Regions from separate parts of the Homo sapiens genome. Here region 1 is linked to region 2. Evidence: promoter capture Hi-C in 16 types of primary human blood cells and fetal thymus (Javierre and others, 2016). All regions are on one chromosome and are shown on one strand. The core of a region is centred on a gene start or on the middle of the fragment in contact, and the rest is flanking DNA. Distances in the headings are between cores, read along the strand shown.

Region 1 (6,848 bases), core at 755-3,254, 140 kb after region 2:
TTATGCCAGTACACTCCAGCCTGGGCAACAGAGCAAGACCTATCTCAAAAAAGAAAATAATAATGATAATAAGACAATCCAGGCTGGGCATGGTGGCTCATGCCTGTAATCCCAGCACTTTGGGAGGCCGAGGCAGGTGAATCACCTGAGGTCAGGAGTTTGAGACCAGCCTGGCCAACGTGGTGAAACCCTGTCTTTACTAAAAATACAAAAATTAGCTGGGCGTGGTGGTGTGGGCCTGTAGTCCTAGCTACTCTGGAGGCTGAGGCAGGAGAATTGCTTGAACCTGGGAGGCAGAGGTTGTGGTGAGCTGAGATGGTGCCACTGCACTCCAGTCTGGGTGACAGAGCAAGACTCCATCTCAAAAAAAAGACAGTCCAATTAAAAATGGGCAAAAGCTTTGAATACTGTATCAGAGAAGATACAGTAATTACAAATAAGCACATAAGATGCTTGATATCATTAGACATAAAGGGAAGTACAAGTGAAAACCACAGTGTGAAACTGCTATACTTCTGCTAAAATGGCTGAGATCAGAAAGGCTAACAGTACCCAGTGTTGGTGAGTAGGTGGCAGATTTAGAACTATCAAACATTAGGGCCGGGCGCTGTGGCTTACGCCTGTAATCCCAGCACTTTGGGAGGTCGAGGCGGGTGGATCACGAGGTCAGGAGTTCGAGACCAGCCTGGCCAACATAGTGAAACCCCATCTCTACTAAAAATACAAAAAATTAGCCAGGCGTGGTGGCGGGCGCCTGTAATCCCAGCTACTCGGGAGACTGAGGCAGGAGAATCACTTGAACCCCAGAGGCGGAGGTTGCAGTGAGCCAAGATCGCGCCATTGCACTCCAGCAAAAAAAAAAAAAAAAGAAAAAAAAAAAGAAAACAGTTTGACAGTTCCTTTTTTTTTTTTTTTTTTGAGACGGAGTCTGGCTCTGTTGCCCAGGCTGGAGTGCAGTGGCGCATTAATCTCAGCTCACTGCAAGCTCCGCCTCCTGAGTTCACGCCTTTCTCCTGCCTCAGCCTCCCGAGTAGCTAGGACTACAGGCGCCCGCCACCATCCCCGGCTGATTTTTTGCATTTTTAGTAGAGACGGGGTTTCACCGTGTTAGCCAGGATGGTCTCGATCTCCTGACCCCGTGATCCATCCGCCTCGGCCTCCCAAAGTGCTGGGATTGCAGGCGTGAGCCACTGCACCCGGCCATTTTGTTTTGTTTTTAAGGAAACTTCACTAGCAGGAAAACAATTACTTTAAAAATTAAACATACACTTACCATATGACCCAGAAATTCTACTCTTAGTTATCTACCTAACAAAAGTAAAAACATGTCCACACACAGAGACTTTTTACTTTTAAAAAGCAAAATCTTTTTACTTTTAAAAAGTAAAACGTTGGCTGGGCATGGTGACTCACACCTGTAATCCCAGCACTTTGGGAGGCCGAGGCGGGCGGATCATGAGGTCAGGAGATCAAGACCATCCTGGCTAACAGGGTGAAACCCTGTCTCTACTAAAAATACAAAAATTATCCGGGCGTGGTGGCGGGCGCCTGTAGTCCCAGCTACTCGGGAGGCTGAGGCAGGAGAATGGCGTGAACCCAGGAGGCGGAGCTTGCAGTGAGCCAAGATCGCGCCACTGCACTCCAACCTGGGAGACAGAGCGAGACTCCGTCTCAAAAAAAAAAAAAAAAAAGTAAAATATTTTTACTTTTACATACACAAAGACTTGTGTGTGACTGCTGCCAAAAACTGGAAACAGCCGGGTAGGGTGGCTCATGCCTGTAATCCCAGCACCTTAGGAGGCCAAGGTGGGTGGATCGTTTGAGCTCAGGAGTTCAAGACTATCCTGGGCAATACGGTGAAACCCTGTCTCTACAAAAAAATACAACACCTTAGCTGGGCGTGGTGGTGTGCTTCTGTGGTCCCAGCTACTTGGGAAGCTGAAGTGGGAGGATTGCTTGAGCCCAGTGGGTGGAGGTTGCAGTGGGCTGAGATTGTGCCATTACATTCCAGCCTGGGTGATAGAGTGAGACTCTGTTTCAGAAAACACAAAAAACAAAACTGGAAACAATTCAGATTTTGATCAACTGTCCATCAACTAGTGAATGAATATATAAAAGGTAGAACTGTATCCTCATAGTGGAATGCTTCCTAGCAATTTAAAAAACTATTGGTACATGAAACAAAATGGATGAACCTCAGAAATGTGCTAAGTGGAAGAAGCCAGAGACGTAAGTCAACACATTGTATCATTCCATTTATATGAAATATCTAGTAAAGGAAAAACTATAGAAATAGATTTAAGGCCAGGCATGGTGGCTTACGCTTGTAATCCCAGCACTTTGGGAGGCTGAGGCGGGCAGATCACGAGGTCAGGAGTTCGAGACCAGCCTGACCAACATGGTGAACCCCTGTCTCTACTAAAAATACAAAAATTAGCCAGGCGTGGTGGTGGGCACCTGTAATCCCAGCTACTTGGGAGGCTGAGGCAGGAGAATCCCTTGAACCTGGGAGGCGGAGGTTGCAGTGAGCTGAGATCGCACCACTGCACTCCAGCCTGGGCGACAGAGCAAGACTTTGTCTCAAAAAAAAAGAAATAGATTTTAAAAAGTAATCTTGGTGGCCCTCCCAAGCCTAAAAGGCACATTCTACACTTTCTCTACTGAGGGCAGCTTTTATTGGTTCTCTCCAGTGGTTTGGCAAAAACCATAAACTTACTAACTTGGAATAATTGGGCCATTTATAGGTATATAGTCATTTGCAAAAATATGTGGGAAAATTTAGATTTGTACAGCAGCTAAATTGAGGGTAGAGTGATAATCGTTTGCTTTACAAAAGAAGGCATATTCATGTTCTGCATGAGTTTTCATGACAAAAAAGGGCAAGGTAATCTCCTTCTCCCCACCCTCAATTTTGAAAAAAGGAAACACTTCTAGTTTCTTTTATTGAGAGCGGTCTCCCCCATTGATGGGGACCCCTAATTGATGGGGTCCTCTCTAGGAGATTTTATCCCATTTGTACAGCTTCCTGGTAAAAGCAGATCTGTGTAGCTGAGTCCGGATCCCTAAAGCATTACTGTAGGTTGAGTATATTGGGGGCAAACTGAAAATATATACAGTCAGCTTACAGTCATTTCTGCTGACTTTTCTAAGTGCTCCCTTACATCATTTAGCATTTGGGATGTTTGCATTAGAATTGAAATAGAGAATTGTCTAGTCCATTCTCCTTTGCTTTTGGAGACTTTAGGGGAGATTGCACTTGCACAACTGGTATTTTGGCGGGGGTGGGGGGTGTATTTTGAAATCATTGTTCTATAACCAGTGTGTCATTGTTACTCAGCCTGTCTAAAGAATCACTTCTGGCTGAGATTTATATCCATTTTATTTTCTCTCTGGCAAAAATTCAAGTGGCTCTTCTTCCAGCTTTTTTTTCTCCCCTTCTCTAGCTTAATTTGTCAGTTCCATTCTTAAACATTCTGCATAGATGCCTGGTTTCCTGAGCCAACTCTTGTCTCTTACTAAATGGGGTGATGTTATGTTTTTAAGCTGCTATGTAGGTGACAACGACATTTTACTCTTTGAACGTTCAGACTATCTAGTCAACACAAGCTTTATAGAAGCAGCTTTCTCTGACCCAGCATTCGGAGATGATTTGGATTTTCAGGAATAAACGTTTTTAAAGGGGATTGAGGTTTCAAAGTGAGATCTTCCAGCCTGCTTATAAGGTAAATGCCCGCCTGTCCACTAGATGCTTCCCAGGAGCTCTGCCACCCTCCAGTTTTTCCTTCTTTCCTTAAAGACTTCAGATTTTTTTTTTTTTTTTTAATAGAGGCAGGGTCCCACTATGTTGCCCAGGCTGGTCTGTAACTACTGGGCTCAAGTGATCTTCCTCCCTCAGCCTCCCAAAATGCTGGGATTACAGGCGTGAGCCACAGCGCTGGCCGACTTCAGATTTTCTTAAGGCATTGTTTGGAAAGCAAGATTCAAGGAAACTCCTCCTTAGGTTGCAGTGAGCTGAGATTGCACCACTGCACCAGCCTGGGCCACAGAGCAAGACTCCATCTCAAAAAAAAAAAAAAAAAGGAAACTCCTCCTTGTTACCGGGGTTTTTTTGGTGCTTGAGTAAGCGTTGCTTGTTGCTGCTTAAAATACATCATCAGCAGCTCTTTCCATAGAAACTACAAGGCTTTCTTGTTACAGTTGGGATTGCCACTGCTTGGAATGCTGTCAGCCTGTGTGTTTATTTGTCTGTAAAGTTATAGCCTGGTAGGGCCAGAATGGCAGCCAGTCTTGAAAGATTATATATATATTGCTGCTGTATTTGTCTCTCTCCATGTCCTAGAGATCCTGTGAAAAAGGAGCTCTGGCTTCAGATCACTGCAGGGTTTTGCCATTCTTCCCTCTCTTACCCGGGGAGGCTGAAATGACAGCGTGAGCTGGCCTTCTGTGCTCACGCCTGCTCCTCCTTCCTAAGACAGTCTTTGAAACTTGCAAGGACAAGAATACCCATGGCAATTGAAGGCCTCCTTTTTTTTCATAGTCAAACCTAAGCCTTGAGAAAGTGCTTAATTTTATAAACAAAGAATTAGACACTTGGTTTACTTCCTCTGCTATAAAACTATGCTTGGAGCCAGGCGTGGTGGCTCACGCCTGTAATACCAGCACTTTGGGAGGCTGAGGTGGGTGGATCACCTGAGCTCAGGAGTTCAAGACCGGCCTGGCCAACATGGTGAAATCCTGTCTCTACTAAAAATACAAAAAAATGGCCAGGTGTGGTAGCTCACGCCTGTAATCCTAGCACTTTGGGAGGCCCAGGTGGGTGGATCACGAGGTCAGGAGATCGAGACCATCCTGGCTAACACAGTGAAACCCCATCTCTACTAAAAAACTACAAAAAAATTAGCTGGGCGTGGTGGCAGGCGCCTGTAGTCCCAGCTACTCGGGAGGCTGAGGCAGGAGAATGACGTGAACCTGGGAGGTGGAGCTTGCAGTGAGCAGAGCTTGCGCCACTGCACTCCAGCCTGGGCGACAGAGCGAGACTCCGTCTCAAAAAAAAAAAAAAAATTAGCTGGGGGTGGTGGCGGGCACCTGTAATCCCAGCTACTCTGGAGGCTGAGACAGGAGAATCGCTTGAACCCAGGAGGCGGAGGTTGCAGTGAGCTGAGATCGTGCCATTGTACTCCAGCCTGGGCAACAAGAGTGAAACTCAATCCCAAGAAAAAAAGCTATGCTTAGTTTATGGTTTGATGGATCACTGTAAAAGCAGAATATAAATGTTTGAAGATTCCAAGCATTAAGGTACTTTTGGAATATGCTGTAGGTATGGCTCCCCCATTTTTTTTTTGAGACGGAGTCTTGCTCTGTCGCCCAGGCTGGAGTGTAGTGGTACAATCTCGGCTCACTGCAGTCTCTGCCTCCCGTGTTCAAGCGATTCTCCTGTCTCAGCCTCCTGAGTAGGCGGGATTACAGGTGCACACCACCACACCCATCTAATTTTTGTATTTTTAGTAGAGACGGGGTTTCACCATGTTGGCCAGGTTGGTCTCAAACTCCTGACCTCAGGTGATCCGCCTGCCTCGGCCTCACAAAGTACTGGGATTATAGGCGTGAGCCACTGGGCCCAGCCAGTGCCTCTTTTTATTTAAGGAACTGATGTTTGGGGACAAATTGTGTGTTCTCGCGCGTGTTTGCACATGTGCTGCAGCATTGTTAGACTCAGCTGTTCATGTTCATGGGTCTGAAGAGTCTCCAGATTATTTGTTGGACTTTTAAGATGCATTGTTTGCCTTTAATTTGTTTTAACTACCTTGTCTAGCACATTTGTTTTGTCTTACACTCAAACAAATTTGTACCTCTGGAATCTCTAGCAACCAGTAGTGTGGGGTAGGGATCAGAAATGTGCTGGAGAGGTGATAGGGATTGACAGGGTAGAAGTTACGAGATTGTAGTAGACTACCAGATTTTACTAGATTTTCTTTTGATCAGTTTGTGGATGGTTCCACCAGAGGGCAGTGAAGGAACAGACATGACGTAGAATTCAGACTCTTCGTTTTTCTCAAAAGCAGGACAGGGTTGCCTTTAGCTAAAGTTAAAGGTGGACAGCGTTTATGGTTAGATTTACTTGAGTCCTGGCTCCCTATGTGAGCACAGATAATGTTCTGTAAGAGTTTTTAGAGTCTCAGATTGTGGTCTGTGAAGGTGTGGTATGTATTAATTTTTAAACTGGAGGCTCTAGCACAACAGCTGATAAATCTTAATTTTCGCCTTGAATGGAAATTCTGTGTGTGTGTGTGTGTTTGTGTGTGTGTGTGTGTGTGTGTGTGTGTGTGTGTGTGTGTGTTTGTTTTTTTTTTTTTTAAAGAGACAGAGTCTCACTTCTTTGCCCAGGCTGGAGTACAGTAGCATGATCTCGGCACACTGCAACATCTGCCTGCTGTGTTCAAGTGATTCTGCTGCCTCAGCCTTCTGAGTAGCTGGGATTACAGGCACGCACCACCATGCCCGGCTAATTTTTGTAATTTTAGTAGAGACGGGGTTTCACCATGTTGGCCAGGCTGGTCTCGAACTCCCTACCTCAGTGATGCACCCAGTTAGAAGTGTGTGTGTGTGTATGTGTATGTATTTTTTTTTGTTTGGTTTTGTTTTGTTTTGAGACGGAGTCTTGCTCTGTCACCCAGGCTAGAGTGCAGTGGCGCGATCTCAGCTCCCTGCAGCCTTCTCCTGGGTTCAAGCAATTCTCTGCCTCAGCCTCCCAAGTAGCTGGGATTACAGGAGCCCGCCACCACGCCTGGCTAATTTTTTTTTTTTTTTTGTATTTTTAGTAGAAACAGGGTTTTAACCATCTTGGCCAG
Region 2 (7,231 bases), core at 3,671-6,170:
TCCTTGGAGTTGGGCAGGGTAGGACGCTGGCCAAGGGCCAGTGCTGTCTCTTGCTTACAGCCTGAGGACTACGGGAGCAGCAGCTGTGGCCTGGCCGCTCCCAATGCTGGGGGCTTGGCTTGGTGCCCCATCCCCTTCCTGACTGAGCTCTATGAAGGACTCTTAAAAAAATAAAATAAAATGCAAGCAAAGTGCTTTGAAAGAAGGGAGGACACCCTATTCCTGCTAAGGGGTAGAGGAAGAAGGTGAAGGCGGCTAGGTGCCCATAAGAGAAGGCTGGCACAATCTTCATTCCCGCCAGTGTGATTTCAGTCTCAAAAGATGAGTATTTGGCTGAGAAATGGAAGGATACTCCAGGCTCCCTACGGAGTTGTGCTGGGGCCATGCTGAGCTGCCCTTGCAGGCAGCCCTGGGTGCTGGGGGCAGACATGCAGGACACTGGGAAGAGTCAGAACCACAGGTGGGAGGGAATCTCAGAGCCCAGGCTCCCCACTGAGCTTGGCCAGCAGCTTTGAACTCCTTCAGAGGACCCTAAAAGTGAAGGAAGATGACATCCTCATTTCTACCTGAGTTGTGCTCGCACGGGAGGGACATCTGTACTCCTGTGGATGAGAAGGGGAGGCCGCATACTTGCCTCCTGTGTCCTATGGAGGAGATTTCCATCACATCCTTTCCACCCCTCCCTCCCCGGCCCTTGGGCCCAGCTCTGGCCAGGAAAAGTGGGGAGGCCGTAAAGGAGAAAGACCATGCCTTTCATTTTCTTCCTATGTCCTTATCGTCCATACATCCCAAATACTAGGAAGCTGAAGAAGACGGTGACTCCCACCAGGGAGACAGTGGCAGGTGCTGTGAAGAATTGGCGGTAATTGATTCGGAAGTACCAGACCACACCCAACAGCACCACAAAGACAGGCACCATGAGGCTGCCCACATTGACACCAAGGCTGGGTGGCTCAGTGGCCGAGGGGGCCAAGGAGGCTGAGGGGCCTGGAACAGCTGACCCTGGGGGTGAGCGGTGGCAGTGAATCACACAGTTGTCGGTAATGTTCAGAGAACGCAGTGTGCGGGCTGGGTCTTGTAGCAGGCGGCCCTGGTAGATCAGTTTCATCTGGCTTTCTTGTCCAGGGAAGTATTTGCTGTAAGGATGAAAGACATGGAAGAAAAGATAGAGGGTGAGGAATGAGAAGGCAAACAGGCCTGGACCAACAAAGCAGGGGAGTGGGGAAAAACTGGAGGGTGGATTTTTTTTTCCCTCATCTTTATCCTTTTTTTTTTTTTTTTTTTTTTGAGACGGAGTCTCACTCTGTTGCCAGGCTGGAGTGCAGTGGCGCGATCTCGGCTCACTGCAACCTCTGCCTCCCGGGTTCAAGCAATTCTCCTGCCTCACCCTCCCGAGTAGCTGGGACTACAGGAGTGCGCCACCATGCCCAGCTAATTTTTGTATTTTTTTTTTTAGTAGAGACAGGGTTTCACCATGCTGGCCAGGATGGTCTTGATATCTTGACCTTGTGATCTGCCCGCCTTGGCCTCCCAAAGTGCTGGGATTACAGGCGTGAGCCACCGCGACAGGCCCCCCTCATCTTTATCCTTAACTAATGAGGGGTGTATTTGTTTGTTTTGTTTTTTTAGATGGAGTCTCACTCTGTCGCCCAGGCTGGAGTGCAGTGGCGCAATCTCGGCTCACTGCAACCTCCACCTCCTGGGTTCAAGCGATTCTCCTGCCTCAGCCTCCTGAGTAGCTGGGATTGCAGGCGTGCGCCACCACGCCCGGCTGATTTTTGTATGTTTAGTAGAGATGGGGTTTCACCATGTTGGTCAGGCTGGTCTCGAACTCCTAACCTCGTGATGCACCCGCCTCGGCCTCCCAAAGTCCCGGGAGCCACTGCACCCGGCCTGAAGGGTGTATTTCTAAGAAAGTATCTACCTGCCCTTGGTAGGGGCTGGATCTTACACTTTGCTGCAGCTCCCATGTCTGCACCAGCCTCCTTAGAGGCAACCAAGGGCTGGGGGATGAGCACAAGCAGCTTCCCACTTCCCAGGCCACTCACCTCTTCAGGGCACCCACGGTATCCTCTGGCCTAGCCACAGCCAGCTCCTCGGTATCATTGAGGAATTTGAGCCGCACAGTGATGAGGCCAGGGCTGGGAGGGAGGCAGGTGCTATCCTCAGATCTCAGGGGGGCCTCTGGACTGCTGCTGCCTGCACCTGCTTGTCTTTTGGGCAGGCCTTGGATGTCAAGGAGATGCTCAAGGCTGGGCTCAACACCACCCCCAGCTCCAGCCTCCCCAGTGGAGTCTCCCCGACCTTCACCCGCCTCTTCAGCCTTCTCATCATTACCCTCTGATGGATGGGGGAGTTCAGTTGGCTCGGGGTTGCCTTGGCCTGCCACCAGGTGGTCCACATGCCCCAGGTGGAGGACGGATGTGTCGCCTGCTGACACAATAGCGCCCAGGAGCTGGTTGCTACCGCTGTCTGCTACGTAGGTAGAGAGCCAAGCTAGGACCAAGGCTAGAATCAGCACCACCACACCTGCCACCACCATCACCTCATTACCCACACCCTCAATGAGGGTGACATCAGAGAGCTCCATGGCCTGGCTGCTGGCAGGGTCCACGCTGCAGGAACAAAGGGGGACAGCATCAGCAGAGCCTGAGGGGTTGCAACCAGGTCTCTAGTTTGTTTAGGTTCTAACTGACCCAGCCCTGAAAAAAAAAAAAAAGGAGTTCAGTGTTGTGTAGAAGGGGGCACAAACCTTCCTAATTCCGGCACCCCAACCTAAACCTAAAGACCTACCCTACCCTTTGCCTCTATTGTGAAACTCTTGCTTTCACGTTCTGTGACCTTCCTCTCTCAAACTCCAACTTCCCAATGAGTGTGGATCAGCAGGAAAAGCCCACAGCCTTGCTGCTGCTGCTACTGTTGTTGCTTTTTTGGTGAATGAGGAAAAATCTTTGCTGAGGCCTGAGTTTCTCTAGGATTTCTATCGCTTGGTCAAGCAAATATGCCTCCTAAGCAGCCTCCAAAGTGGCTTCAGAGAGACCCAAAAGCCTGGAATATTTTACTGTGGGGCCCCCCTGGAAGCACTGTTTAGCCATCCCTGCCAGATTGTCTCATTTGAGCCTATTTCATTCCTGGTCACAGATCCAGGCTGCCAGATGTCAAGAGCCAAAGAAAACTGACCTACCATCAAAAGCAGAGTCAGACAAATCTAAAACGATAACTCTGTAGGGACCGCGGGCAGATACTATGCAGCAGACATTATGTGCCGCCTCTGAAACTTCTGGCAAGCCCTGGGGAGCAACTTGGGACAGACACCAGAAGCACCACCTTCCTGGGTCACCATGGGCCCACTCCTGCAATGACCACTCCCCAAGTGGAGTGATTTGAAAAAGATTCCATAACAGCTCTCACAATCCATATCTCAGTCTCTCTTCTTTCACTGTGAAGGTTCTGCTGCTGCAGTTTCTTAGAAAGGCAGGAAGGGTCCCTGCTTGCTCCTTGGAGTACCTACTATTTCCCTTGGAGAATCTGCTGCTTTCACAGCTGTCCCTGGGCAAATCCAGTCTGGTGATTACCATTATCAGACTATTCTCACAGCACCTATAAAACTTCATTATACTTATGTACCTGTCCATCTTTCTATTAGACTCCTGGTAGACAAGGATCGTATGTATTTCTCTTGGTACTGAAGTGTCCAATATAATGCCCCAGTAGTTGCTCAAAGAATTATCTGTGGAACACATCAACATCCTTATTTAATATACCGGCCCTGGAGTTAGAAAAACAACTAATTATAACCCCAGTCTTGCGTCTTACTAGCTATAACACCTCAGACAACTTTCTCAGAGCCTCAGCTTTCTCATCAGTAAAATGGGGTTAAAAACAGTACCTACCTCATGAGGTTGTTTTGAAGATGACGTGAAATCATCGAAGCAAAATACTTGGCACAGTGCCTGGCACACTGCAAATTGCAATTGCTTAATAACGGTAGTAATTATTTATCACAACCACAACTAACCCCTGATGGTAAGAAGGTTAATGTTATTAACCATGATTTACAGGAAAAGAAACTGCGGCAAAGAAAGACGAAAACGATTGGCACAGACACAGGGAACTCTCGTGGGGAGGGGCCCGGCAGGACCCCAGGTGTCCGGCCTCAGGGGTCTTTGCTCTGTCCCTCAGCCTGTGATCTACCCTGTCCGTACCGTGACCGCACGGTGAGGAGGGGTCCCGCACCCTTTTTCTGAGGCGAAGGTTCCGCTTTTGGATGGTCCTATTCCCTCGGCGTTGGACTGGGGTCCATGGGCCCACCCGAACCGAAGGGCTGCCTGGCCCCAGCCTCCGTGATAAGACCAGTTGTCCCGGCCAGTGAGGAGTAGGGTCGGCTAAGGGGGTCACAAACCGTCCACACCCCTCAAACTTCGGGGCGGGGCTGGGGAACTGGGGGCGGGGCTTCAGGACGCGAGGAGTCATGGGAAATTAAAGGGGGATTGGACCGGCACTGTGCCTGGATGGGGAAGTCCTCACCTGAAAAGACCAGACTAAATGTTTTGACCTCGCCAGGACGGCCCCTGGACTCGTCTTTCCGTAGGGGTCGGGAAAAGGGCTGGCAATCTGCGATTCTGTTCAGGGTCCGGTCTCTTCCGGCTTCTCCCGGAAGCTGTTATACCAGGGACAGGAAGTCCCGCCTCCGCGCCTTGCACTGATGACGCGAAGCTGCGTAAGACGGGCTGACGTAAAAGGTATTCTTTAAATAAAAGGGACAGGTTTCTCAGCGGAAGGAGGGGTGGAGTCATTGTTGGCGGGATTGCGGCCCTCCCAGAGCGGGGCCACGCCTGGTGGGCGGGGCCTTAGGCAATCCAGGGTGAGAGGCGGGGCCAGGGGGGAGGAGTTAGCGCGGAGGTACTTGGGAAAGGGGCGTGGCTTCGCGACTGCGGAAGGTTGCCCGGGCTGGCGCCGCTGGGCAGAGCCGGTGCGACGTTTCCCTTTCCAGCTTTGTTCTTCCGGCCCTGCTGTCTGCCTCCCCGGCTGATTGGATTCGTTACTGCTTTGCAACGCGCACCTAACTCCAGGTTAGCGGGGATTAGTAAGAACTCAGCTCTGGGCCAGTCGGGAAGACAGATAAGGAGACCAGTTAGTCAGCATCCAGTGCTTGAAGAGTGCGGCCCCAGGTAGTGTGGGACCCGGAGAAAGAAGGCGGGAAAGCATTTCAAAGAAGGCACAGATTCGGCGCAGGCTTAGGACACAAAAAGGGGGAAAAGTCCAGCTTTCAAGAACTTATCCAGATTTTTGCAGTTAAAATTTTTTCTTTTTTGAGACGGGAGTTCCGCTCTTGTTGCCCAGGCTGGAGTGCAATGGCGCGATCTCGGCTCACTGCAACCTCCGCCCCCCCGGGTTCAAGCGATTCTTTTGCCTCAGCCTGCCGAGTAGCTGGGATTACAGGCATGCGCCACCACGCCCCGCTAATTTTGTATTTTAGTAGAGACAGGGTTTCTCCATGTTGGTCAGGCTGGTCTCGAACTCCCGACCTCAGGTGATCCGCCCCCGTCTCGGCCTCCCAAAGTGCTGGCATTACAGGCGTGAGCTACCGCGCTCGGCCGCAATTAAAATTTTTTCTAAAAACTTACTGTGGCCGGGGGGAGTGGCTTACTCTTGTAATCCCACCGCTTTGGGAGGCAGAGGTGGGAGGATCGCTTGAGCTCAGGAGTTCGAGGCTGCAGTGAGCTATGATCTGAGCCACTGCATTGCACCCGACAGGGAGGCCTTGTCTCCAAAAAAAAAAAAAAAAGCGCTGGAGTTTGGGGTTTTGGAGAACTACTGATTAAAGGATAAATAATCCAGACAGGGGCAAACATAAGCAAAAAGCTCGGTGGCTTCTACCAACTGAACACTGGCAGAAGTAGCACTTAGATCAAGAAATAGATAATTAGGACTGGCGCGGTGGCTCACGCCTGTAATCCCAACACGTTAGGAGGCTAAGGCAGGCGGATCACAAGGTCAGGAGTTCAAGACCAGCCTGGGTAACATGGTGAAATCCCGTCTCTACTAAAAATACAAAAATTAGCCGGGCGTGGTGGCGCACGCCTGTAATCCTGGCTACTCAGAAGGCTGAGGCAGGAGAATGGCTTGAACCTGGGAGGCGGAGGTTGCAGTGAGCTGAGATGGAGCCACTGCACGCCAGCTGGGGTGACAGAGCGAGACTCTGTCTCAGGAAAAAAAAAAAAAAGAAAGAATTACCCCAGAATCTCCCCCTTCATGTCTTCTTCTAGCCATTAACCTCCAAAGAGTAATCACTATTCTGACGTCTGTCACCATACATTAGTTTTTCCTGTTTTTGTACTTGCTATAAATGGAATCCAACTGTGTATCCTCTTCGGTGTCTAGCTTCTTTTTTGTAAGTCCTTTCATTGTGGTAAAATAAACATAGCTAGGCACAGTGGCATGCACCTGTAGTCCCAGCTACTCTGAAGGCTGACTCAGCAGTGTCACTTGAGCCCAGGAGTTAAAGGCCAGCCTGGGCAACACAGGGAGACCTCTATCTCTAAAGATAAATATATACATATACGTAACATAAAACTTAAAACCATTTTAACTATTTTTAAGTTTGCAATTCAGTGGCATTAAGTACATTCACAAAGCCGGGCACAGTGGCTCATACTTGTAATCCCAGCACTTTGGGAGGCTGAGGCAGGAGGATCCCTTGAGCCAGGAGTTCAAGACCAGCCTGGGCAATATGGTGAGACCCCCATCTCTAAAAAAAAATTAATTAGCTGGGCATGGTGGCGTGTGCCTGTGGTCCCAGCTACTCAGGAGGCTGAAGTGGGATGATTGACCCTAGGAGGTTAAGGCTGCAGTGAGCCATGAGCCAGCTACTCAGGAGGCTGAGGTGGGATGATTGCTTGACCCTAGGGTCAAGATTGCAGAGAGCTGTGATCGCGCCACTATGCTCCAACCTGGGAGACAGAGTGAGACTCCGTCTCAAAATAAAAAAAAATGTAAAGGAAAATAATTGTCTTCAGCTGAGCATGGTGGCTCTAGAGTGTAATTGCAGCACTTGGGGAGGCTAAGGTGGGAGGATCACTTGAGTCCAGGAGTTTGAAACCAGCATGGGCAACATTGCGAGACCCTGTCGCTACAAAAAATTTAAAAATTAGCCAGGCCTGGCGGTGTGTGCCTGTAGTCCCAGCTACTTGGGAGGCTGAGGTGGGAGAATCATTGGAGCCTAGGAGGT

The links. The method cuts DNA at HindIII sites, captures the fragments that hold promoters and counts their contacts. A CHiCAGO score of 5 or more calls a contact.
Region 1: a contact is called between a fragment that was not itself captured here and the fragment with the promoter of ASB16-AS1 in region 2, in 1 of 17 cell types (erythroblasts). The highest score is 5.6, in erythroblasts.

The regions. Positions count from the first base shown.
Region 1 is chr17:44,040,780-44,047,627 of GRCh38, reverse strand. The region is part of intron 2 of LSM12 (LSM12 homolog); the gene reads left to right. Among named protein-coding and RNA genes, the nearest start is that of LSM12, 22 kb to the left of the region's middle. The HindIII fragment of the contact is 3,208 bases long and covers 401-3,608 here.
Region 2 is chr17:44,184,406-44,191,636 of GRCh38, reverse strand. It overlaps ASB16-AS1 (ASB16 antisense RNA 1), which reads left to right and starts at 4,920. Exons shown (of 3, transcript NR_049730.1): 1 at 4,920-5,072. TMUB2 (transmembrane and ubiquitin like domain containing 2) reads right to left here and starts at 4,665. Exons shown (of 4, transcript NM_001076674.3): 1 at 4,528-4,665; 2 at 3,894-3,961; 3 at 2,049-2,615; 4 at 1-1,136. The coding sequence starts at 3,928. The coding sequence ends at 773. RefSeq lists an enhancer at 4,807-5,341. The HindIII fragment of the contact is 11,845 bases long and covers 1-7,231 here.